Regions from separate parts of the Homo sapiens genome. Here region 1 is linked to region 2. The links are contacts of gene promoters, found by promoter capture Hi-C in human tissues and cell types (Jung and others, 2019). All regions are on one chromosome and are shown on one strand. Each heading gives the region's core, a stretch centred on a gene start or on the middle of the fragment in contact. The rest is flanking DNA. Distances are from core to core; before and after follow the strand shown. Region 1 overlaps SGMS1 (sphingomyelin synthase 1). Region 2 holds the start of ASAH2B (N-acylsphingosine amidohydrolase 2B).

Region 1 (4,726 bases), core at 1,410-3,909, 140 kb before region 2:
TCTACCCATTAAATTCATTTATGTCTCCTATCCACCTTCTACATATAGCCTGAAGGTAATTTTATATGCGATATTTTTAATAACATTGTGCATGCAACAAAGTTTTGACTGTGTTTTGACTGCAACCCATCACATGAGGTCAGGTGTGAAATTTTCCACTTGTGGAGTCATATTAGTGCTCAAAAAGTTTTGGATTTTGGAGCATTGCAGATTTGGGATTTTCAGATTTGGGATGCTCAACCAATACCCATTCTCTGGACACTTTATTCTTCTCCTGATACTCGCCTCTGATAACAGAGTTCAGGTAACTCTGAATCACCTTGTTTTAATCTCTCCAAACACTGTTCCCACTGCTGAGCTGTCAATCAATGATCCTGTCAGCCTAGAAAACCCTGCCCCATCTCTGCTTCTTCAAGTTCATTCCAATGCCTACTTCCAATAACCAGCCACTCTGTGGCTCTGCAAATGCAGGGAGAATGTTCTGCTTCCCACAGGAGCTACTTCTGAATTCACCTGTCCTACCTTATGTCATAGCATTTAAAGTTCTTTCAGGGTAGTCCTTATTTAACTCAGTCCTTATTTAACTAACACTTGTGTCACTGGCTGAACCAAGCATGATACTTCTCCCTGTTCAATATCTTTTTGTGTGTTATATCAGGGGAAGAAGGGAGAAGAAGGCTACTGGAGAAGATGCACAGTGTTTATTTGGAGCCTGCCTACTAAACACTTATCAGGCACTCTCCTAGGCATGAGAGGGCAATGACTGAGACAGCAAGGTCCCTGAACTTACACTGAAAATGTGATGTTTATTTTTCTAAATAAATAAATATGCACACATACATAAAGCAAACACATCAAAAAGTTAACATTTGATAAAACTGGAAGCTGGATATATATGCATTTATTGTATTATTCTCAGTAGGTTCCTGAACATTTAAAATATTTTAACAATAAAAAAATTTGTAATGAGAAGAAAATAAACATAAAGCCTCTACTCTCTGTGGAAAGAACTGCTTTGTCAGACTAACTTATTTCCAAAGTGCCAGGATAGAGAAAATTTTACAGTGATCTATTTTGTTTTTAACATCATGCTCCACAGCAGACAAAACAATCAGGAGAAAAGGTGAAAATGAACGAGTTTAGACAATGGAATTCAATTCAGCAACACAATGAGGTTCTCAGCCAGTCTAGGCTGTCTTCATTTCCAACTCCTTATCCTCTGCAATGTTAAATGATAAAATAAAATACCAGAAAAACATAACCACATTCTAAAACCTTTTGCCTCTGAAGAGGAAGCCCTAATAATAACCACTACCATTTTATTCTACATCTACAGTGTGCTGGGGTCTTACAAACATGATCCCCTAATAAACCTGTAGGATGAGCTTTTTACAGATGAGGAAGTTAAGATTCAAACAACTTAAGTAATTTCCTCAACATCCATTGGTTCCATTGCTGGTGAGAGGCCGGAGCCCAGGCTGCGCACCACCAGGGCTGAACCGTGGGTAACAGAGCTAGCTTCCAAATCTCTCTCTGCCGAGAGTCAAACACCTTGGTTTTGTTTTCATTTAACCATGATGCACACCTCTCACTATCTGATACTCCTTCTCTTACTTATCGTAAACTTCTGGGCTCCCACAAAGGAGTGGATCTTACACAGAGAAAGCAGTCTCTAGTAGTAAATTCAGTAAATTTAAAAAACACACACACACAAAATCCAAGAAATCACAGTCTTGAGATACAGTATCAAAAACCGTACCTCCAAATGGTAACTCAAGGCAACAAAAAAATTGAGGGGTAAAAAACTAAATTGCACAACACACTGCAGTCATCAAAGAAACACTGCATGATTGTTTTAAATTGAACAGCCTTAACCTCTGAAGGGACCTTAATGTTGTAGTCAGCAACAAACCTGTGAAAAGAAAAAGAATTGGTAAAATCACTTTCTAATGTTATGTATCTTTAAACACTTGTGACTGTGAAGAGTGTACAAAATTTATCTTCCACATGTAGACAGAGGGGCAGGACAAGCTAGAGCATACATAAACAGGTTAAGATTTTATTATTTACTAAATTTTCAAAAATGTAGAATAACATTAAACTTGAAATACATGCCATTGTTTATTCTAGTAGGAGTTACATTAACCATTCTGGAAACAAAATATAGATCAGAAAATGAGAAAAGTCAGATTTAATCTAAACGTCAACATTTCTGACCCCTAGAGTTTATTCCTAAAATAGGGGCCTCAGTGCAAAAACGGCACTGTACACTTTGCTTTTCTATCACTTCCTCCTGCACAGTCTAAGCTCTGATGACAGCTCTCAGACAGTAAGGAAACTGCTGAGTCAAAACCACATAATCAGAGCCCTCCACCAGCTGGACCCTCATAAACCTGACACCCCACCCAAAAGAAAGCAAACTGGTCCCCCACATGAGCCTGCACGTAACAGGCTGCTCACCACCAGGGCTGAACCGTCGGTGAAATTTACATGTGCAACCCAAGCAGAGGTTCCAGGGACGGTGTCTAAAGAAGAACTATTAGGAAGATAAGAGAACCAGAACTGTAGAGAGCCACCAAAAATGCACAACATATAACAGACTCCAACAGCAAACAGGCAATTATTTGCCTAGACGTCTGATACAGTGCCAGGTTAGCTCACTGCACTTGAAATTTTAACGGCACAAAAGAACCGCAATTATCTTTTTTCCCAGAGACACATTTCTTTGATTACATCTTGCATGCTGAAATAAAAAATTTATTCAAACAGTTTCAAGGTTATTCTTTGGAATGGAGTATTTGACTGATTGCCAAATGTATAAATTATATGACTAAGTATTAAACATGTGTGTTTACTTTGTTCCAGAGGTCACCTATTTAAATCAAGGACTTAAAAAGTCCTCGATTGATCAACTCCACAAAAAAGAAGAAAGATTATTTATCCCTATAAATCTACACATACACCCATCAGTAAAAAGACCAAGACAGACTCCAAAAAAATGACTAAAAAGATCATACAAGAAATATAAATATAACACAATACACAATGCTGTCAGTAAACTCACCGATAAGCCTCCATCTTCAGATAGATCATGTGCCTTTAGAAAATGTGAGCAATGTAAACAAACAGATTTGACTGGCATTGTTTAAAACCACCAGTTAGTCACATTTGATTTTTATCAGGCCTATAACGGTACAAAACATTTCACTTCTGTTACTACAAAGCTGGAAGCTAATTTCAATTTCCTACATCTCCACAAAAAAGCACCTACAGACATGTCACTGCAAGATGCCCAGGCACCACAAAACCCCGGACCACTGCATGGAGTCAGTGGGGAGCATACTGCTCTATATTCTCCATTGGGCCTCCCCTACCACCCAGATTTGGGAAAAAATACAAATTAAAATCAAGGGAGCTTGCTGTGCAAACACAGCCTGTAGCTCAGAACCTCAGCCCCACTTCCAAACAGAATGTCATCCATAAACAGAAATTCCAGAGCTGCCACAGTGAGACAGGCTCACAGAGAAGCATACCACTGAAATAAATCATATCTGCATATCCAGTGAGCATTTAACCAGCTCAGAGTGAACTAAGGAACCAAACACTACTGCCAGATTTTCCCTCCTAAGGTACTGACAAGTAAGAGCTATCAGAGCAAAAGATATGAAAACACCGGCTGTTTTCCAACAACCCTGACAGGACTTGCTCAAGGTTGCTGCCAAGTTTGCTGGTGAGACTGCTCTGAAGTATTGTGAAACCACACTCTTGACCTCAGGCAGTACTAATACCTTCAACTAAACACTGTTCAAAGTGGTGGGTGTGTTTATAACTGTAAAGGCAGAATTTCCTTGACCACACAGTGATAAGGCACCCTCTAATAAAACTGATCACAAGAAGGCACATATTTTTATTTTCCTTTTTATTTATACAAATGTATGGGGTACATCTGCAATTTTGTTACATGCATAGATTGCATAGTGGTCAGGTCAGGGCTTTTAGGGTATCCATCCCTCAAATAATATACATCATACTCATTAACCAATTTCTCCTCATCCTCCCCACTTCAACCCCTTCACCCTTCTGAGTCTCCATTATCTATTGTTCCACTCTCTACATTCATGACAAGGAACATATTTTAAGAGACACCTTATTTTCTTTTAAAAAGAGTCTCTTGAAAGATGTTTGTCTTGAACAAATATTTGTACACCTGTGTTCACAGCAGCACTAACCACAACAGCAAAAGATAGAAGTAACCCAAGTGTCCAATGACAGATGAATGGATAAACAAAATGTGGTATATCCATACCATGGAATATTAAAAAGGAAGGAAATTCTGACACATGCTACAATATGCGTGAACTCTGAAAACATTATGCTAAGTAAATCAAGCCAAATACTAAATAGTTCCACTTATATGAGGTACATAGTCAAATTCGCATATACAGAAAGTAGAACAGTGGTTTTCCAGGGGCTAGGGGTAAGAAACAATGGGAATGATTGTTTCATGGGCATAGAGTTTCAGCTTGGGATGAGGAAGTCATTCTGGAGATGGATGGTGGAGATGGTTGCACAACAATTTGAAGGTACTTAATGCCACTGAACTGTATACTTAAAAATTGTTAAAATGGTACATTTTGTGTATGTGTATTTTACTATAATCAAAAAAGATGTTTGTACTTGTTTAAAGTATAGATTTGGAATAGTAGAAATATTTTAAAACTATAAA
Region 2 (5,216 bases), core at 534-3,033:
GCTCGCTCACTAGAGAGGGAAAAGTCATAAAGGAAGGAAGAAACAGTGAAAAGGTAGTAAGATCTGGATTGGAGGTACTGGTAAGGTTGCAAGAATTTTGTTTCAGGGCAGTATAGGGAGTAACCTGGATAGCTAGGAGGTGGTGGTCAGAGTGGGCTACTGTGGGGTTTGCAGTCCTTGGACCTGACAAGGTCTAAGGTCTGATCATGGAGGGAGGGGGAAGCTGAGGTAGGGCAGAGGACAGGAGTGGGCTTCATGAGATCAAAAGGATGTTGGAAGGATTATCTACCCGGATACTGACATCTCCATGAAGTAAGAGGCATAGTGTGAAGAAGTTACAACATCCTAAGCTCTTCACAGATAAGGGAAGCATGCACCACGTGGGTAGCCTCTCTTGTTTAGCACCCAGTATATAGCCTATGCAGAGTGAATACCTGGGGGCTGCTGGGGGCGAAAACAAGGTCACTGTGACAGGACCTGAAGCCTGGGGGTCTCGGTGACAGGAGTGGGCCTAGTTTTTTGGTGTAGAATTGAGCCTTGAGTGCACTGGTGGGATCTTATTGAAAGGAACCCCTCCAAGACTAGAAGAAGATGCATCCTCTGACAATGTAGGCTCTGTAGGCGTCCCAAGTACCTGGGCTGTGGGTTAGATGGACTCCAAGGCATTTCCTCAGGTGGCAATGGGCCGATCCCTGGGAAGGCAAAGCTGTGCAGGAAGAAAATGGCAAGATGCTACCTTCCCTCAGGGAAAGCCCCTTTCCCGGGAGCAGGGAAGGCGAGGCAGTTTAGGCTGGGTCAGTTTGTCCCTGCCATCAGAGTCTGTTGGTCCTGGAAAAAGAGGGCCTTATTTTATTTATTTATTTTTCTTTGAGACAGTGTCTTGCTCTGTCGCCCAGGCTGGAGTGCAGTGGCTCGATCTCAGCTCACTGCAACCTCCGCCTCCAAGGCTCAAGCGATCGTTCCGCCTCAGCCTCCAGAGTAGCTGGGACCACAGGGACCACAGGCGCCCGCCACGACGCTGGCATTGATTGATTGATTGATTGATTGAGAGAGAGGTAGCCTCCCTGTGTTGCCCAGGCTGGTCTTGAACTGCTGGGCTCAAGCAATCCTCCTGCCTTGGACTCCCAAAATACTGGGATTACAGGCGTGAGCCACCGTGCCTGGCTAATTTTCTTCCTTTCTTTTTTTTCCTGCGAGACGGTGGGCGGGGGTATCTCCCTAAGTTGCCCAGGCTGGTCTTGAACTCCTGGGCTCAAGCGATCCTCCCGCCTCAGCCTCCCAAAGGGCTGGGATTACAGGCATGAGCCACCGCTTCCTGCCAAAAGAGGGCTTTAGGGCACCCCCAGAACCTGAGATCTCCCTCATCTGTCATCTTTAAAGAGAAGGAAGTCGACTCCCAGTCGAGCCATAGTCCATTTGTCCCGGGCACGGTGACTCCGGGGTGGCCAGGACCAAATGTGTCTCCTTCTGGCTTTTGCACCGCACCAACTAATCCGCGGCAGGCCGCACAGCTGCCCTGGCCTTCGCGGAGGACTAAGGCGAGGGCGGTGTACGCTGCTCCGGAGTCCCACCGCGGGAGTTGAGGCAGCGGATTCCGAGGGCAGGGTGGGGCGGAATCGGGAGGGATGCGGACCCGGTGGAACGCACTGCGCAGACGGCGCCGGCGCCCGCACACAGCTGTTGACTAGTCTTCCAGCTCTCCCCTGGAAGTCGTCCAGGCGCCGGTCTCTTTTTTCTGCCTTTTTGTTTCCCTCCCCGCGAGTCGGCGCGACGGTGAATTTCCGTTTCCGGCGGTGTGGAAGCGGACCTGAGGAGTCGCAATTGTGAACAGGTTCGGTGCTGCGGCTGGGGTAGGCGGCAGTGGGGTCCCTGGCTCTGGGGCACTGGGAAGATCGCGAGTCGTGCGCGTGGGAAGGTCCTTCCCTGGTCCTCCGGGTTATCTTTGCTCCCCAGGAGCAGCATATTTCACCTTTAACGGAGGCGTGCCCGGGAGTCGTTGGGAGAGGGAACGGGGTGAATCCCTGCAGAGAGCCTGACGGGGAGGGAAGGTGTCCGGGAGACGTCGTTTCCTGGCGACGTGGTCCCAGCAGGCGACTCGGACCTGAGCCGAATCTGTTGACCCCAAATTGTGCTTTTCCCACCAAGAGCAAAAGAAAGAGAAACATTAGTACAGCTTCGGAACTAAAATATAGTAGAGAAGCAACATAACCTCGGAAATCCCACAGCTATTCAGTTTCAAAGCGTTCCTAGTGCCCAGCTCTCCTAACTCCCAGCCGGTGTTCCTTGACGTTATGGTGATATATAAAGACTTTCTGTTTCCGCTCGTGTTGTGTGTCTGTGGGAAGCCTCTGACTCACTTCTGTGCTCCAGTAGCACCCTGTGCAGCCTTGCAGTGTATCCCTTATTGCACGGAAGGTACTAGTTTGGATTTCCTCTGCAAGTCAGATCATAGCTATATCCATTCACTGGCACAGTGGCTAGCACATCATAGATAGACCAAACATTTATTAAACGGAATTAATACAGGACCTTAATTGAATGAAATGGCACCCTTTCCCGCTTTTTTTCAATCAAGCTGTCAGATTTTATGCAGCCTGATATTCTTAAAAAACTCACTAATTCAGTGATTACCAATTTATTGGCCACAGATTCCCAGGTACCTCAGAAATCACTGGAAGGGTCTCTGTAAGTCCATGGGGTCTCCAGGCATCATTTAGAACCAGTCATATCTCACACATACAGATACTGCTGTTTTTCAAATGTGTGTAGATGAGTTATAATTCAGGAGTTTTACAGAGGTGACAGGTACTAAAAGTAATACTGCGATCCTATTGGAAGTTCATAAAAACGTTTTAAATTTTTTATTACAATTTAAGTTTAAGTTAGGAAACCACTTCATTAGTCCAGTTGATACCTAGGTCTGAGCTGTCCAGTATGGTAGCGACATGTGACTGTTTAGAGTTAGAATGAAATTAATTAAAAATTCATTTTTTCAGTTTCTTTAAGAACATTTGTTTAGGGCCACAGGTTTCCAGGCTTAAGGGTGGGGCCTTTGCCAGGGAACCACTCTCTTCTACCCAGTATTTTCCTGTCTCCTGTCCATATCACAGGGATATACTCCGGCAAGTATTGCTATTAATTACTTCATTCATTCAACAGATGTATTGTGACAGATACTGTGCTAGCCACTTTCTGGGGCATAATGATGAAAAGAATCTGTCCCTTCCCTCAAGATCACTGGAAGCCGGGGGTCTAGTAGGAAGACAGAAAAGAGAACAGATGATTACATTTTCATGAAAGGCATGCACAAGGTGTTATAAAAATAAAGAGAAAGAGCACCAGCCCAGACTGGGTATTTGAGTACTGGGACTGTTCAGGAAGATGTAACATCTGTATGAGTTCTTGACAACAAGTGAGAGTTAAGCAAATAAAAAGTAAGAATGTATCCTATATAGAAGAAACGATATATGCAAAGGTCCAGAGGGCAGGCACATTGATGGACCACAATTAGTTGAGTAGCATGGAGTAAGTATGCGGAGGGTGATGGTAAGGAGATGGTAGCCAGAGTGGGAGACACAGGTTAGCTGATGGATAGTCTTGCATGCTATGCTACTGAGCCTTCACTCAGTAAGGAAGGCTTTGGGGGAACTGCAGTAGGATTCTAAGCAAGAGAATGCTTTGATAAAATTTTGTGATTTAGAAAGGTCAATAGATGGCAGTGTAGAAAATGAATTGGAAGGGCTTGTGTATAGGCAGAGGACTGATTAAGAAGCCATAGTGTAATTAAGATCTGGGCAAGACATGGACATGCACACTTGAGGGTGAAGGCTGGGAGGAGGGAGAGGATCAAAAAACTACTTATCAGGTACTGTGCTTATTACCTGGATGATGAAATAATCTGTATAACCAACCCTCATGACATGTGATTTACCTATATAACAAACCTGCACATGTACCTCTGAACTTAATACAAATATAAAAAAAAAGAGATCTGGGTGAGAAATGAGGGTTTGAACTAAGGTGAAATCTATTTGTACCTTAGGAGAAAGTAAGACAGGAAAATGAAAGATCTCAGGAGATTTGAAGGAGACAGAATTACCAGATGTGGAGACTGATAGGATACAGGATGAGGGAGAGAGGAGTCTAAGGTAACTGCCGGCTGATCCTCACATGGGAGACTGGAAAGATGACATTCGCTGAGATGAGAATGTTGTGGAGGAAGCTGGTATGTCTGAAGTGGTGAGGTTGGTTTTAGATTTGATAACTTTGAAGTTCCTGTAGAAGAACCAAAGGCCTGGAGGTCAGCTAAAAGATGCATTTGGCTCAATTTCATGGCTTTGTGATGGATTAAATGTCTTTCTCCAGTTAGCACCTTCTAACTATTTATCCAGAAGTTACTAGGACTCTTTATTTTGTTTTATTTTTCTTCTGATATATGCCCTGGGGGAAAGCACTTATATTACAAGTACTTATAATAGACTAAAGCTTAGGAGCTAGCACCGTCTTTCATAGTAAATAGAGTGACAGTCTAAATGGCATAAGCAGAGAGAACCCACTGCTTTTAACAGGTAGTCCATAGGAGTCACTTACCTTGGCCAGTAAATGGAAATGCCCATCCTCTTTTGTCATACATAATCTTGAAGATTGTGCCAGTTTTGAATAATGTGAGATGTCAAGCATCACACTTACCTAAAATGCTACACCTCTGTAAATGGATTTAAATATGCAGAACCATATACAACTCTCCCTGCCTTTCCTGCAGGCTCAGCGATATGAGGCAGCATCGACAATTTATGGACCGCACGCATTATCTGCTTACATTCAGCTCTTCAGAAACCTTGCTAAGGCTATTGCTACGGTAATCAAATATTGTTTGTGCGTGCGTGCGTGCGTGTGTGTGTGTGTGTATGTCTGTATGTGTCTGTGTCTGGGTAAGAGGGAAGTGAAAGAGAACCTTAGCTTCGAGTGTTCAGTTTGACAACCTTTATATTTTACAAAATTTATAGTTTTGTGGTATCTCTAACAAAATAAATAAAATTTCTTTCCCAATTTTGGATCTAGTTAACATCCTTTCATGCTGGCAGCTTCTTTCATATGTATTTTCTCACTATTTTTACAACCATCATGTGAAATTAGGGAGATATCATTTCTCCCCAGTTTTCAGAGGAGCACATAGGCTTGAAGATAAGTGATGAAGCTTACTACACCTGGGAGTT

Evidence for each region. The method cuts DNA at HindIII sites, captures the fragments that hold promoters and counts their contacts. A contact is called where the count stands out against the background at its distance.
Region 1: a fragment that was not itself captured here is called in contact with the fragment with the promoter of ASAH2B in region 2 in 1 of the 25 tissues and cell types used here (mesenchymal stem cells).

What each region holds. Positions count from the first base shown.
Region 1 is chr10:50,601,835-50,606,560 of GRCh38, forward strand. The region is part of intron 1 of SGMS1 (sphingomyelin synthase 1); the gene reads right to left. Among named protein-coding and RNA genes, the nearest start is that of SGMS1, 20 kb to the right of the region's middle. The HindIII fragment of the contact is 7,249 bases long and covers 1-4,726 here.
Region 2 is chr10:50,738,153-50,743,368 of GRCh38, forward strand. It overlaps ASAH2B (N-acylsphingosine amidohydrolase 2B), which reads left to right and starts at 1,784. Exons shown (of 6, transcript NM_001321958.2): 1 at 1,784-1,831; 2 at 4,763-4,858. The HindIII fragment of the contact is 7,213 bases long and covers 1-4,841 here.